Linked DNA regions of Homo sapiens: regions 2 and 3 are each linked to region 1. The links are contacts of gene promoters, found by promoter capture Hi-C in blood cells and fetal thymus (Javierre and others, 2016). All regions are on one chromosome and are shown on one strand. The core of a region is centred on a gene start or on the middle of the fragment in contact, and the rest is flanking DNA. Distances in the headings are between cores, read along the strand shown.

The links. The method cuts DNA at HindIII sites, captures the fragments that hold promoters and counts their contacts. A CHiCAGO score of 5 or more calls a contact.
Region 2: a contact is called between a fragment that was not itself captured here and the fragment with the promoter of STXBP3 in region 1, in 4 of 17 cell types (activated CD4 T cells, fetal thymus, non-activated CD4 T cells and 1 more). The highest score is 6.0, in activated CD4 T cells.
Region 3: a fragment that was not itself captured here is called in contact with the fragment with the promoter of STXBP3 in region 1 in 1 of 17 cell types (fetal thymus); the score reaches 5.1 in fetal thymus.

The regions. Positions count from the first base shown.
Region 1 is chr1:108,744,551-108,748,842 of GRCh38, forward strand. It overlaps STXBP3 (syntaxin binding protein 3), which reads left to right and starts at 2,124. Exons shown (of 19, transcript NM_007269.4): 1 at 2,124-2,236. The coding sequence starts at 2,188. RefSeq lists enhancers at 1,803-2,373, 1,896-2,305 and a silencer at 2,506-2,625. The HindIII fragment of the contact is 6,658 bases long and covers 1-3,482 here.
Region 2 is chr1:108,554,630-108,558,921 of GRCh38, forward strand. No RefSeq gene overlaps it. Among named protein-coding and RNA genes, the nearest start is that of EEIG2, 3.3 kb to the right of the region's middle. The HindIII fragment of the contact is 3,181 bases long and covers 943-4,123 here.
Region 3 is chr1:108,898,511-108,902,802 of GRCh38, forward strand. It overlaps GPSM2 (G protein signaling modulator 2), which reads left to right. Exons shown (of 15, transcript NM_013296.5): 6 at 132-255; 7 at 369-484; 8 at 3,280-3,435. Among named protein-coding and RNA genes, the nearest start is that of GPSM2, 24 kb to the left of the region's middle. The HindIII fragment of the contact is 5,386 bases long and covers 28-4,292 here.

The DNA of each region.
Region 1 (4,292 bases), core at 874-3,373:
GGTGCAATGAAACTGAGGTGTTTGAGGTCACACTGCTAGTAAGAGGCAGAGCCAGATTTTGTAGGATGTAAACCTATGCCTACGTGCAGTTAAAGACCATGCTTGCTCCACTATTCCGCAGTGCCACCAAGGACTCTGGCCTTCAGGAGCATGAGCCAGAACTGCACCCCATGTGACCAGAGTCAAACTTCCAACCCAGAGGGACCTGTATTATTCCCTGGCACCTGGTCATTCTCCTGAAGGGTAAGAGATGGAGGCACCTCACCCATCTCACTCTTCCCTCTTGGTTTGGCTCTTCAGAGCAAGGGGCTTCACCTCAGAAGGGTGAATTTTCCCTGGCACATATTTTTCTTATGGATTGGGGCTTCACCCTGCTAAACTAAGCAGAACCTAACTTAAAATGAAAAGGGAGAGGGAAATCATATGTGCACTTGTTTAAAACATTGAGCAACTGAATCAATTTAGAGTAGGTTTAAAGGAGGTCAGGGCTCCAGCTTCTATTCTCATATAAGCCTTGAACAGAAAAACCACTCAGCCATAGGTTGTGCCAGAACCCATTTTATGGCCTTTTTTATTGTTAGATACAGGGTCTCATTCTGTTCCCCAAACTGGAGTACAGTTGCATGATCATAGCTCACTGCAGCCTGGAACTCCCAGGCTCAAGCAGTCGTCCTACGTCAGCCTCGCAAGTAGCTACGACTCCTCAGCTTGCAGGTAGCATGCGCCATCATGCCCAGCTAACTTTTTTATTAATTTTTTTTTTTTTTTTGGTGGAGACAGCAGTCTTGCTATGTTGCCCAGGCTGGTCTTAAACTCCTGGCCTCTATCAGTCCTCCTGCCTAGGCCTCCCAAAGTGCTGGGATTACAGGTGTGAGCCACCATGCCCAGCCTGTTCTTAATTCTTCATTTGCCTTTCCTCTCCTAAAAATTGCAGGTTACCCCACAGACTACTCTATTGCTTTCCATGTAGCCCAAGCCTGATCTTTGTTCCCACTCCACCACTAAGTGCATCCTTGGCAAGTTACTTGACTTCATTAAGCCTCAGTTTCCTTGTTGTAAGTGTTGCTTTGAGGATCAGTGAGGTAATCTACTTAGCATGGTGCCTGGCATATGGTAAGTAAGCACTCAGTAAATATTAGACATTATTATTAGTAGTAGTATCTAACCACTTCTACTTCCCTGTGTGACCAATTTGAATCTTTACAGCCACTGGTTCTTTGCAAATCCTTCTAGGAAAGCCTACTTTCTGCCAATGTCACATGGTTATCTCACAGTTAGGGCTCTTAGCAACTAAACTGATCTCACTTACGTTTGATTACTTTGATTTAAAGTCCCAAAGGAACCATCTCAGTAAACAGATCTCTACCTAAACTTTCTGAGCTCAGATCTCCTCCTCTGTGAATCAACTTTCAACAATAATTGTAGATTCTGAAGCATTAACAGGCCCTCCCTACATTTGTTGCATAAATTTGTTAATAAATGATTATTCTTTTGTTGGTTCATTTATGTATATCTTATCATTAAGGCATTCAATTTTTAAACTAAGTTTTAACTACCTGCAGCATTCCAGGAATTGTGCTCTTTAATTAGATTGTAAATTATTCAGGGGAAAGAGTTGATCTCTCATTTCTTTGAGTTTCCTAAAAGTCCAGCACAGTTCTTGGCACACTGGAGGGAACCTCACAGTTCTACGCAATTACTGTGTCCTTGAAAAAATGAATGAAATAATCATTTGGGGACAGTACATTTTCCATTGGGTAGTTGGGCTGGCTACTGAGTGAAGTCTATTATGAATCGCCTTGCGAAGTGAAGGGTTCTTCTGTAATGGGGAGGATCCTCCAGTCTTCGTGTATGTGTGAACTCGGAATTTCATAGACGGCCTTGGCTCACGATCGGTTTGGCACTTCGCGTTCCTAGGCCACAGGACGTCGAACCTCGGGCGACAGCAGCCTCCCGCTAGGGGGCTCCCGACTTCCCACGGAGGTTCCACCTGTACTGCGCAGCCTCCGTCCGGGAGTGGGCGGAAATTCCCTTGCTGACGCGCGTGACGTCACCGGAGGGCGCGGTCTGCTAGAGGGGGTGGGGCATTCCCCTGCAGCAAGGGGCGGGGCCACCCCAACGCCGCTTCTGCGGCCAAAGTAGGTTGGGAGTGGAAGGTGGTGGCTGCTGCTCCGCAGTGTCGGGAAGATGGCGCCGCCGGTGGCAGAGAGGGGGCTAAAGAGCGTCGTGTGGCAGAGTGAGTGCGGTGGGGTAGGGGTTGAGAGAGGGAAGGCCGGGAGGCTGCCGTGCCGGGCCTCGTTTTGCAGCCCCAACCCAGCGGTCTGTTGAGGAGCCGCCGCGAGCACTTGTTGCTTTGGGACCTGTGTGAGGACTTCTTCCTGCTTTCCTGCCCTGCCTTATTCCTTGCCAGCACCAGGGATGGGCGGGGTGCGACGGGACGCGGCCTTCTCGTTGGCGTCGGGCACCCCCTCGCCTCGGCCGCGCTCTGGCCGCGAAGCTCCGCCCCGGGTGAGCCGCCCGGCCCGGCTTTCCCTCCCGCGGAGCCCGTGCGTGCCCTCGGCCGCGCTCCCCACTCTTCTCCGCTCCCGTCCGCGCTCCACCAGTTGGGGATGTCTCTCCATCCGAGACAATTCGGGCGCTGTTTATTCCGCCCCCATCTCCACCCCACACTGGAGTTTGCAAGGACTGTTTATTCTGCTTATTCGTGTTAGTATCAACCCGTGCTTTTCAAAAAACCTCACTGTTTAACAGACTCATCTTCCCCTATTCCGAGAGGAGCCTACTTTCTGAAAAGTTCTTGAGAAGAGACCATTGGAATGACCGGTGTCCAGCCGTGACATCTTCCTGCATAGCCTGGGCAAGAGCCGCTCCTTCCGTTTTCCCTACTCTCGGGGGCCCCTCCCTGCTGTTAGGACCGGACTCCTTATTGGTTACTGATGTTCTGCGGTATCATCCACAACTTTCATAAACATCGCTCCAAACCTAGGTCTGGCAGGTTAGAGAAAGAATGAAACCACCCAACAGGAATAACCATCATTGTTTGGTATCTCTGAGTTCAAGATAATTATGGCCTAGTAGTGGAAAGGGAGTAGCATCTAATTAGTATTTCTTAGTCCAACTTGTTGAACAAAAAACAAATGATTTAGTCAGCAGAATTCTGGGAGTTAGAGTTCCTTGTCTAAAATTAAAAATCCAAATCAGTAACTGGGATAGTGCTTAACATATAGCAGGCACTAAGCAAATGTATAAATAGGTGAAAAATATGAAATTATCTTTTAAAAGATTAGATAATTTTAAGGTTGGCATTTGCTTTTTCAAGATTTACATGGCTGACTTAAGATTTGAGATGTTTTAAAACAATGGTATTTAAATACATTTATGTGAAAATGGGTAACAAATTGTGTTGTATAATTTCCAAGATATATATGTGATTAACATCCGCATGTATGTATTTAAGCCAGTTCTTTACATATTGAATCATAAGCTTTTCCCTTTTTCACATTTTCCTTCTGATCCTCATACAGATAAAGACATTGTTTTTATTATCTGTCATTCTGTGACTTCCTTTTTTTTAAACAACTGACATTGACTCAACATTTTTCATGTTGCTTCACAATCTCGTAATTAACATTTTAAATTGCTTTTTAAATACCTTGAGGTGGCAAAAAATTTTGATAGCAGAAAAGAAAAGAAAAAATTATGGCCAGGTGCAGTGGTTCACGCCTGTAATCCCAACACTTTGGGAGGCCGGGGCAAGATGATCACCTGAGCCTAGGAGTGGGCAACAAAGTGAGACCCCATCTCTACAAAAAAATTTTAAAATTAACCATGTTTGGTGACATGCACCTGTGTTCCCACCTACATGGGAGGCTGAGGCAGGAGGATCCCTTCAGCCCAGGAGGCTGAGGCTGCAGTGGACATTGATTGTGCCACCGCACTCCAGCCTGGGTGACAGAGCAAGACCCTGAGTCTAAATAAATAAATAAATAGCTAGCGTAAGCCCGGGCACAGTGGCTCACGCCTGTAATTACAGCACTTTGGGAGGCCAAAGCAGGTGGATTGCTTGAGCTCAGGAGTTCGAGACCAGCCTGAGCAACATGGTGAAACTCTCTCTCTATCAAAAATACAAAAATTAGCCAGGTGTGGTAACGCACACCTGTGGTCCCAGCTACTCGGGAGGCTGAAGTGGGAGGATCGCTGGAGCCTGGGAAGTTGAGGCTGCAGTGAGCAGTGATCATGCCACTCAATTCAGCCTGGGTGACAGAGCATAACTCAGTCTCAAAAAACAAAAA
Region 2 (4,292 bases), core at 1,283-3,782, 190 kb before region 1:
CCACTGTAAAGAATTGTCCAGTCTAACATTTCAATTAGAGCTGTGGCTTATGAACTAATAAAATATCTTCCCTCACTCACACACAATGTATAATGATAGAACAAATATAGTAAATACTTCCAGGTAGGAAAGGGGGAAAAGTGGGACCCTGGCCCATCACAAAAATGAAATTTTGCAGGGAGGCATTGTGATGGCTCTGAGCTGGCAGTGGGAGCTGTTTCTCAGCTACACCCTGTTTCCATTATCTGTGAGGAATCTGCTTATCTGTTGTCCTCTGTGGTCCCTGGCTCTGCCCTCTGGAAATTTTTCCTCTAAGCCCACATTTAAAATGAGTGTCGAGGAACGTGACTTTCTTGAGGAGAGTACAACTTTTAACGCAGGCTCATGATTTCTTTAGCAATACAGTAGTTCAAAAACTGAAAAGTATTTGATCTTTTTGCTTCCAGTCAGTTCCATATGCCAGAAACACTGAGGTTTCCTAGAGATAATTCTCAATCCTGATTATCTCTTTGCTTCTTCACTCCTCTCTTCCTCTCAATTTAAGGAGGCTACTTTGAGAACATCAGACTTAAATGTGAAGACCACACCCTAAATATAATCTTTGTTTCACGGCTGAGTCTTAATGGGCCCTTGTTGCTCAAGAGCTTTTTCAATCTTATTTCCTATTCTTTGAGGTATAGAGCAGTTAGTTTTTCCCATCCCTTGAGGCTCCAAATTTCTGGACTCTCTATATTCCTTTTAATTTATGCTTGCAAACCTGCTAATTATTGCATGAGTTCATCTTATGTTTCCAATATCTTACTGAATGCAGCCATAAATATAACCTACTAACATTCCATTTTTCAACCTCTTATAGAACTATGGGTTTCATAGATATCTTACTTTCTTACCAAATTATTGTAGGTATAAGATTGATGGGAAAGCTTCCCCTCTGCCTTCTGAAGCTTTGCTGAAATGACTGACAATAGACAGATTAACAGGAGAAAAGGCATACAAATTTATCAGTGCACATGGACAGAGTAGTCCTGCGAATATGAGACTCAAAGAAAGACCAGAGGGTTGAGACTTAAATATCCTTTTTGTAGGGGAGAGGTAAAGGGGGAGTGTACGCATTTTTAAGGGGTAGTAAATGCTTTTCAAGGGAATTGAATAAACCTGTAAGAATTGTCACACCTCTGGCAGTAAGCAGTCTTAGCACATGTCTATTCACTCTGTTGTTTTACCTGAGAGTTAACACACTTAGGATAGGTCTATAAATTCAGGTCATTTCAAGAAACATGTATTGAATACCCACTAGGTACTGGGCTATTTAGAAAAGATACAAAGATGATCAGCAAACCATCCCTGCCTTTAAGAAACTTGAATTATAAGTACTGGAGTAGATACTTAGCCTCAACATTCATTCCACCATCCTATCTGAAGAAGTTGGAAAGCTGAAAATTACATTTCTCAGACTCCTTTGCCACTCAATTTTTGGGTGCAAATAAGGCCTGCCAAATAAATTTCCTTATGAAAACACAGGTGCAAGTGAAATGGAGGCTCTCTTCTTACTGCTGTGTCACTTGCAAGCAAGGTGTGATGACATGCCTGTGGCATTCAGACTCCTCATAGTCTTGACAGGTGTGAGCCAGTGGTGGTGGCAGCAGCAGTAGCAGTGTTCTAGTGTCAGCTTCCCATCCCAGCTGCAGTGTATGTTAGTCAGAATAAACTAGACTTATGCTGTAGTGACAAGCATCCCCCAAAATCTCAGTGGCTTCATATAATAAAAGTTGCTTTCTCACAGACAAAATGTTTCCTGCAGGTGTGGGCAGTTGCTCTCCATGTGCTGACTTAAGAAATCTGGGCTGCTTCAATCTTGTGGCTGCTACATCTTAACCCAAGGTCTCCTCTATAACTATTGTGGCAGGGAAGAGGTAGTCTAGAGAACTGCTCAAAGGCTTTTCACTGTTTCATCCTGGAAGTGACGTGTTACTTCTCACATTTTATTGGCTAGACCTCATCACAAGGCCCCACTAACCGCAAGGGAATTGGGAACTGTAAACTCCCATATGCTCAGAAATCAAGGAGGACCGGATACTAGTGAACACTAGTAATGTTTACCACAAAGCATGTGACTTTGAATTCGACAGTCTGCTGACCTCAACCCCTTCAGCCCTTCCACAGATTTCAGAAGCAGTGAAGTGCCTGAATGAAATCCCTTTTTTTTTTTTTTTTTGAAACATCCAGAGTGGTTTCAGCTTCCTATGGTGAACCCTGACTGTATCCTTTGTGTGCTAGTGGCTTTCCATCCCCTTACCTCCAACCATTCTCTACCTTTCAGTGCCCTACTTTGTGCCCCAGGAGTCTGTCCTGTATGAACTGCATGTTCCGAGCCCCTCTACCCTCTGGCCTTGGTTGGTTTTGGATCATGGGAAGCACCACCAAGAGATCAGAAAGTAGGAGGTGAGAGAAATCAGGATATTTATCCCTTCTTCCTTTCAACTTCTCACCAGACTGTGGGTCCCTTACCCTGTCAACTCTGTGAAGAGTCCTTTCATTAAATTTTCCCCATTTAAACACATTGAATATGATATCTGTTTCCTGCCTTGACTATGACTCCTATCAGGGGTTTAATAATCAAACCATGAGTCTAAAAAACAGTAACAGACTGTCTCCTATCTTCCATTTTATAAAGTAGAAGAGCTTTACAAAATGTAAATCTGAATATATCATGCTTCTTCTTTAAAACTTCAATGGCTCTTTGTTAACCCCTGTCACTGTACCCAACTCTAAGTTGCAGCCAGACAGAACTAATTTCAGTTCCCTCTGCAACATGGTCTCTCTTCCTTTGAGCCTCTGCACAGACACTACCTCCTTCCTGGAAACTGCTCCCCACCCATGCTCATTATTCAGGCCTCAGCTTAAAGGCCTGAATTCAGGCTTCACTTACCCTAGAAGGCATTCCATAAACCTACTACTTATCCCTGTTAGCTTTTATAGTCTCCCACAGCAGTCTCCACTCACCATCATACACAGACAGCACTCAGTGTTACATTGTACTGCAACTGCCTGCTTACTTCTCTGTGTCCTCCAGTAGACCGTGAGATCTAAGACAGGGACGGCATTTCAAATCCATAGGACCTATTAAGGTGCTTGGCACCTAATAGACACTCAATAAATATTGGATAGTTCCTGAATGTTATTGAAAAAGATTGAACTGTCCTCCTCTGGTCACCATTCTCTCTCTCTTTTCATTCGCTGACAAAAAAATCAGAAAAACATCAATAAAAATATAATTTTTATTTACCCACATTACTTTGTCACTATCTTACTTTTCACTGTCATCTTTTCACTTACTTTGTCACTTTTCATCTTACTTTGTCACTATCTTTTATGATGACTTCTCTTGCCAAGATTACCAATGACCTCCTAGACCTTCAATTCAGTAGCTTCTTTTCAGTCCAAATCCTCTGGGACTGCTCTGCAGCACTCTCTTGAAATGGTCCTCTGTCCTACATGGATCACAGATTGCTCTCTCTCTTTCTTTCTCTCTCTCTTCTCTCTCTCACACACACATACTCACATACCACACACACACACTTTAGTTGATCTGTTTGCATATCTCTGTTTTTCTCCATTCCTTTATAAGCCCCTATGTCTTATTCATTTGCATCTCTAGTACCCAGCATAGTGCCTGGCACACAATAGAACTTTGTAACTACGAATGTTACATGATTAAAACCGTCTGGGCTTCCAGGCCATCTCTTTCTTCATCTCCTTTTTCTCTTGACTGCTTGTTCTTAGGCACCTTCACGATCTCCTCTTTGCCTACCCTTTAAATATTCTTCAGAGTAACTCATCCTTATCCACCTTTTGGGCTTCAGCCATCAGCGATTACCTCAATTCCCAAATGTATATTTTCAATTGCCAATGCATTTTTATGAGCTAAGGCTGCCTCTCTCTCCCTAGATGTACTGCAAGCAGATCCCATAAAGACTCATTATCTCTTCCATTCCCAACCTGCCCTCCTCTTGCTTTCAATGTTCAGTCAATGAAATTAACATTCATCCAGTGCTCTAAATGACAAATCTCAAAGTCCCCAAATGCATCTCACTGTCTTTGCCCCCTGTCCTGCAGGGTAAGAAGCTTTATCCATTACCAAATCCCCACCCCCGAACCTGCCTCTGAATCTTTTTTTTTTTTTAATTTATTTCTCCTAGAACAACTTACCCCACTTTGTCCCAAATCATTTTCATCCTTTGAAATTCAGAAAACTGATTAACTTCAATTAATTGCTTCTCTGAGTTCTACAT
Region 3 (4,292 bases), core at 1,471-3,970, 150 kb after region 1:
CTTAAAATGTTGCACATTATGGCTGTAAGCTTCCCTACATTTTTTTCTGATAAAAAGAATTAGATATGTAAATCACATACATAAAATTGTTCTGCAAACTTATTTTTTCATCACTTTTTGCGATCCCTTAGGGAAAACCTATCATTAGTGACTGCTTTGGGTGACCGAGCGGCACAAGGACGTGCCTTTGGAAATCTTGGAAACACACATTACCTCCTTGGCAACTTCAGGGATGCAGTTATAGCTCATGAGCAGGTACAGTGGAAAGCCTTGGAGCCAGATCATTTCCTCCATCAAAGTTCTGAACAGTGATTAGATCATTCTTCAGTTTTATTTTATCTACATCTAATTAAAATTGTTTGTTTCAGCGTCTCCTTATTGCAAAAGAATTTGGAGATAAAGCAGCTGAAAGAAGAGCATATAGCAACCTTGGAAATGCATATATATTTCTTGGTGAATTTGAAACTGCCTCGGAATACTACAAGTTAGTCTAATATTTCTGTAGATAAATGTAAAATGAATACTCAGTCCCATTAATTCATAGGCTTTAGGTTTAAAATCTGATTGTAGCAGAACTTTTGGCATCTAAGCCTCAATTTCCTTATCTGTAACAGAATATATCAATACTTCATTTTGGGGAATGCTGTGAGGATTGAATGAAATAATATACTAAACACAGTATCTGGTACACAGTGCTCAATAAATATTATTGTACATAAGATTTAATAGCAGCAGTATGACCCCTTTATAATATTGGTTTTTATCTTTAAAAGTAATTGTTTTTAAATGAAGTTTTCAACCTTTAATATCTTTTAAACCTGTTTAGCATATGTGGTGTATATTGTGTATATGCTTTATTTCACTCAGTTATGGGTTAGAAGAGAGGCCAAAAGAAAGCCTTGTAACAAAAATATTTATAGTCTATACCAGTGATCACTGAATTTTTTTCTCTACCTTCCCACCCTCTTATTGAGCAGTTCTCCCTTTACCCTCTTTCTGCCTATATTTGACTGTCACTGTAAGCTGAGTCCCCCATTCACTTACCTGAAGCATTTACAATCCCAGCTTCTTCTGTGGCAGGATCTCTCTTATCAGTAGATTTGAGACATAGATGATAGAAAGTTTAGACAGCTTCAAGTTGCCTGATCTGTGCTTTCTAGATTGAGTTTTCCCTAGTTAGTGGGGATTGAAGCCTCTTACAGATTTTGGGTAGAAGGCAGTTTGACTAAACCGAAGACACAGTGATTGATTTGTATTTTGTTAAAGAAGCCAATATGAGACAGTTCTGGATAATTTGTCATCTTCATAAAAAAGGTAAAATTGTTTTAGGCCTATCTAAAAAAATTAAATAGCATTCCACTTTGCTTTAAACATCAACTAATGGTTAATATTTGTTGGTTAGGTTAGTTAGATATGAAATAGCCTCCCAAATAAAATATATCACTGTGTACTATGTGAAGGAGTATATATTTTGATTTTAAATATAAAAATTTCCTATATTTAAAGCCAAGGGATATAGAGAAGTCTTAATTATTAAATGGTGTATCTGTGTTAAATACTGAAAGGTTCTATTATAAAATGGATAGTGGCTATTTGACTAAAGAAGCATGAATATAAAGTAATGAAACTTAGTTTTTTTCCTCCCAATAAGCAGGCTAGAACTCAGAACTTTATATATATTCCAAGTCGTTGGTTAGAAATATTTTTAGAACTCTTCTTTAGATTTTTTTTTTTTTTTTTTTTTTAAATACGGAGTTTTGCTCTTGTCGCCCAGGCTGGAGTGCAATGGCACAATCTTGGTGCACTGCAACCTCGGCCTCCCCGGTTCAAGCGATTCTCCTGCCTCAGCTTCTGAGCAGCTGGGATTACAGGTGTCTGCCACCACGCCCAGCTAATTTTTGTATTTTTAGTAGAGACGGGGTTTCGCCATGTTGGCCAGGCTAGTCTGGGACTCCTGACCTCAAGTGATCCGCCCACCTCAGCCTCCCAAAGTGCTGGGATTACAGGCGTGAACCACCACACCCAGCCTGGAATTGTTATCAGGGCCAAACAAGAAGGCTAACAATGTAGATCCATATCCTTCCGGATACAAAGCAGTAGTTTGGTAAACCTATGTTAGTAATTGAATTTGGTTCCAGAAAGATTTCTGATCATTTACAAATCAACTGTACCATCAAAGAATAATGGTATGCCAGAAAGCATTATGCCACAGGATCTGAAAGCAATTCCAAAAGTCTTTCAAAAATATTTGAAAAGACAGGCAACATTAGAATAAGTAGGTAGCCTCCCAAGGTGACAGATTTGAAGGTATCATCATTAAATATGTAACTTTAGATTTGTTTGCTTAAAAAAAGCTATCACGTTACCGCATAGTAATTTGTCATATAGTTATAAGTGATATGAAGTAATTATACTATTTGACAGAAATAATGGGAGGGTCATTTAAATTACTGAATCCAAAAGCATCTATAGGTTTAAGCACTGATAATAACACATTAACATTTATACAGCAACTACTATGCACAAGATGCTATTCTAAGCACTTTATACATATTAATTTAATCCTCACAAAAATCCTTCGAGATATTTCCCCCATTTTATATAAGAAGAGACTGGTATACAGAGAGATTGAGTGACTTTGCCCTTAGCTTAGTAATTGGCAAAGTTGGGATTTAAACCCAGTCTAGCTCCAAGATCTATGCTCTTAACTGCTACGCTAGCTTCTCACTGGCAATACCACAGGTAGAATTTGGGTAATGTTTGGATGTAGTATTCAGTATTTTTCATGAGTTGGTGACTAATGCCCGATACATAAGAATTTTACCTAAGTGGTGACTAATAGCCTACACATAAGAATTTTACCTAAATATTTTAAATTTTGACAATGCAAAGGTGACGGTATGATTGAAAACAGATGTCATGTGGAAAAAAGCCTCTTTTAGCTATTGCCAATACTAAAGGGAAAGTTTTTTTAAATGTTAAAGATATTATGTTAATCTCTAGAACCTCTTGATTTTATGTTTCAATACTCCTTTACTTTGATGAATTGTTAGGATTCTCAAATTTATTCTAAAAGTCTTGAATCTTCTTTCTGTGTTTCAAAAACGTCTTTTCATTTTGTCTAAAAGTAATGGAGAAAGTACGGGATATGAATATTAGGCTCTCAGAGATTTAAAGACAGCAGAAAGCAGCAGAGAGGAAAAATGAGAGTTTTGTTTTGTGATTCTTAAAGCCCAAACTGAGAATGATCATTATATAAGAATTAATTTCTTCTTGTAGGAAGACACTACTGTTGGCCCGACAGCTTAAAGACCGAGCTGTAGAAGCACAGTCTTGTTACAGTCTTGGAAATACATATACTTTACTTCAAGACTATGAAAAGGCCATTGATTATCATCTGAAGCACTTAGCAATTGCTCAAGAGCTGAATGATAGGTATGTTTTACGTCTTTTTACCATAACTAAGGTAAAATATAGATGCATTATTGAATCCCTAGAATTTTTCCTTTGTTTCTTTTCCTTTGTTTTCCTTAAAATCCCTTTTAAGGAATTTTCTTTCAGTGATATCCTCTGTATATCATTGTATGAAGGGCTAGTCTGTGATAGAGGATTAGTCTGGTTCCATATGCCCTTGACCCAAGATCAATGACTAGGTCCCAAACTCAATTACCTCTTCAGAAGTCTTCCTGGTGAAACCCCGTATCTACTAAAAATACAAAAATTAGCCGGGTGTGGTGGCGCACGCTTGTAATCCCAGCTACTCAGGAGGCTGAGGCAGGAGAATCGCTTGAACCCAGGAGGTGGAGGTTGCAGTGAGCTGAGATCACGCCACTGCGCTCCAGCCTGGCGACAGAGCAAGACTGCATCTCAAAAAAAAAAAAAAAAAAGTTTTCCTAACTACATAAGTGTGGGAATTGTGGTGAACTTAGAGATAATGTCCAGTGTGAAGGGGGCAACTGCTACCCAACTCCAACTAATTGTTGCCAGCCAGGAATGAAAATCCGTTATGTCCACATCTTCCTGTTTTTTAAAGAGAAGCTGGAAGTGCTGAGTTTTATATGAAATCTGATTTTTAAATGTTAGTGGCTAATTCAGTTTTTTTGTTTTACTGTATTAAAAAACATTATTTTCCAGCATTTAGTCTGTGATGTTTGCTTTAGAAGATCGATTTTGTTTTTACCTCAGTATGAGAGAGAACTTTTCGATGCAGATGTTCAAAATGAAGTATGCTACCTCAAGAGGTAGTGCGTTCTCTCTCCCTGCTGCTCAAACACACACTGAATAATTACCTG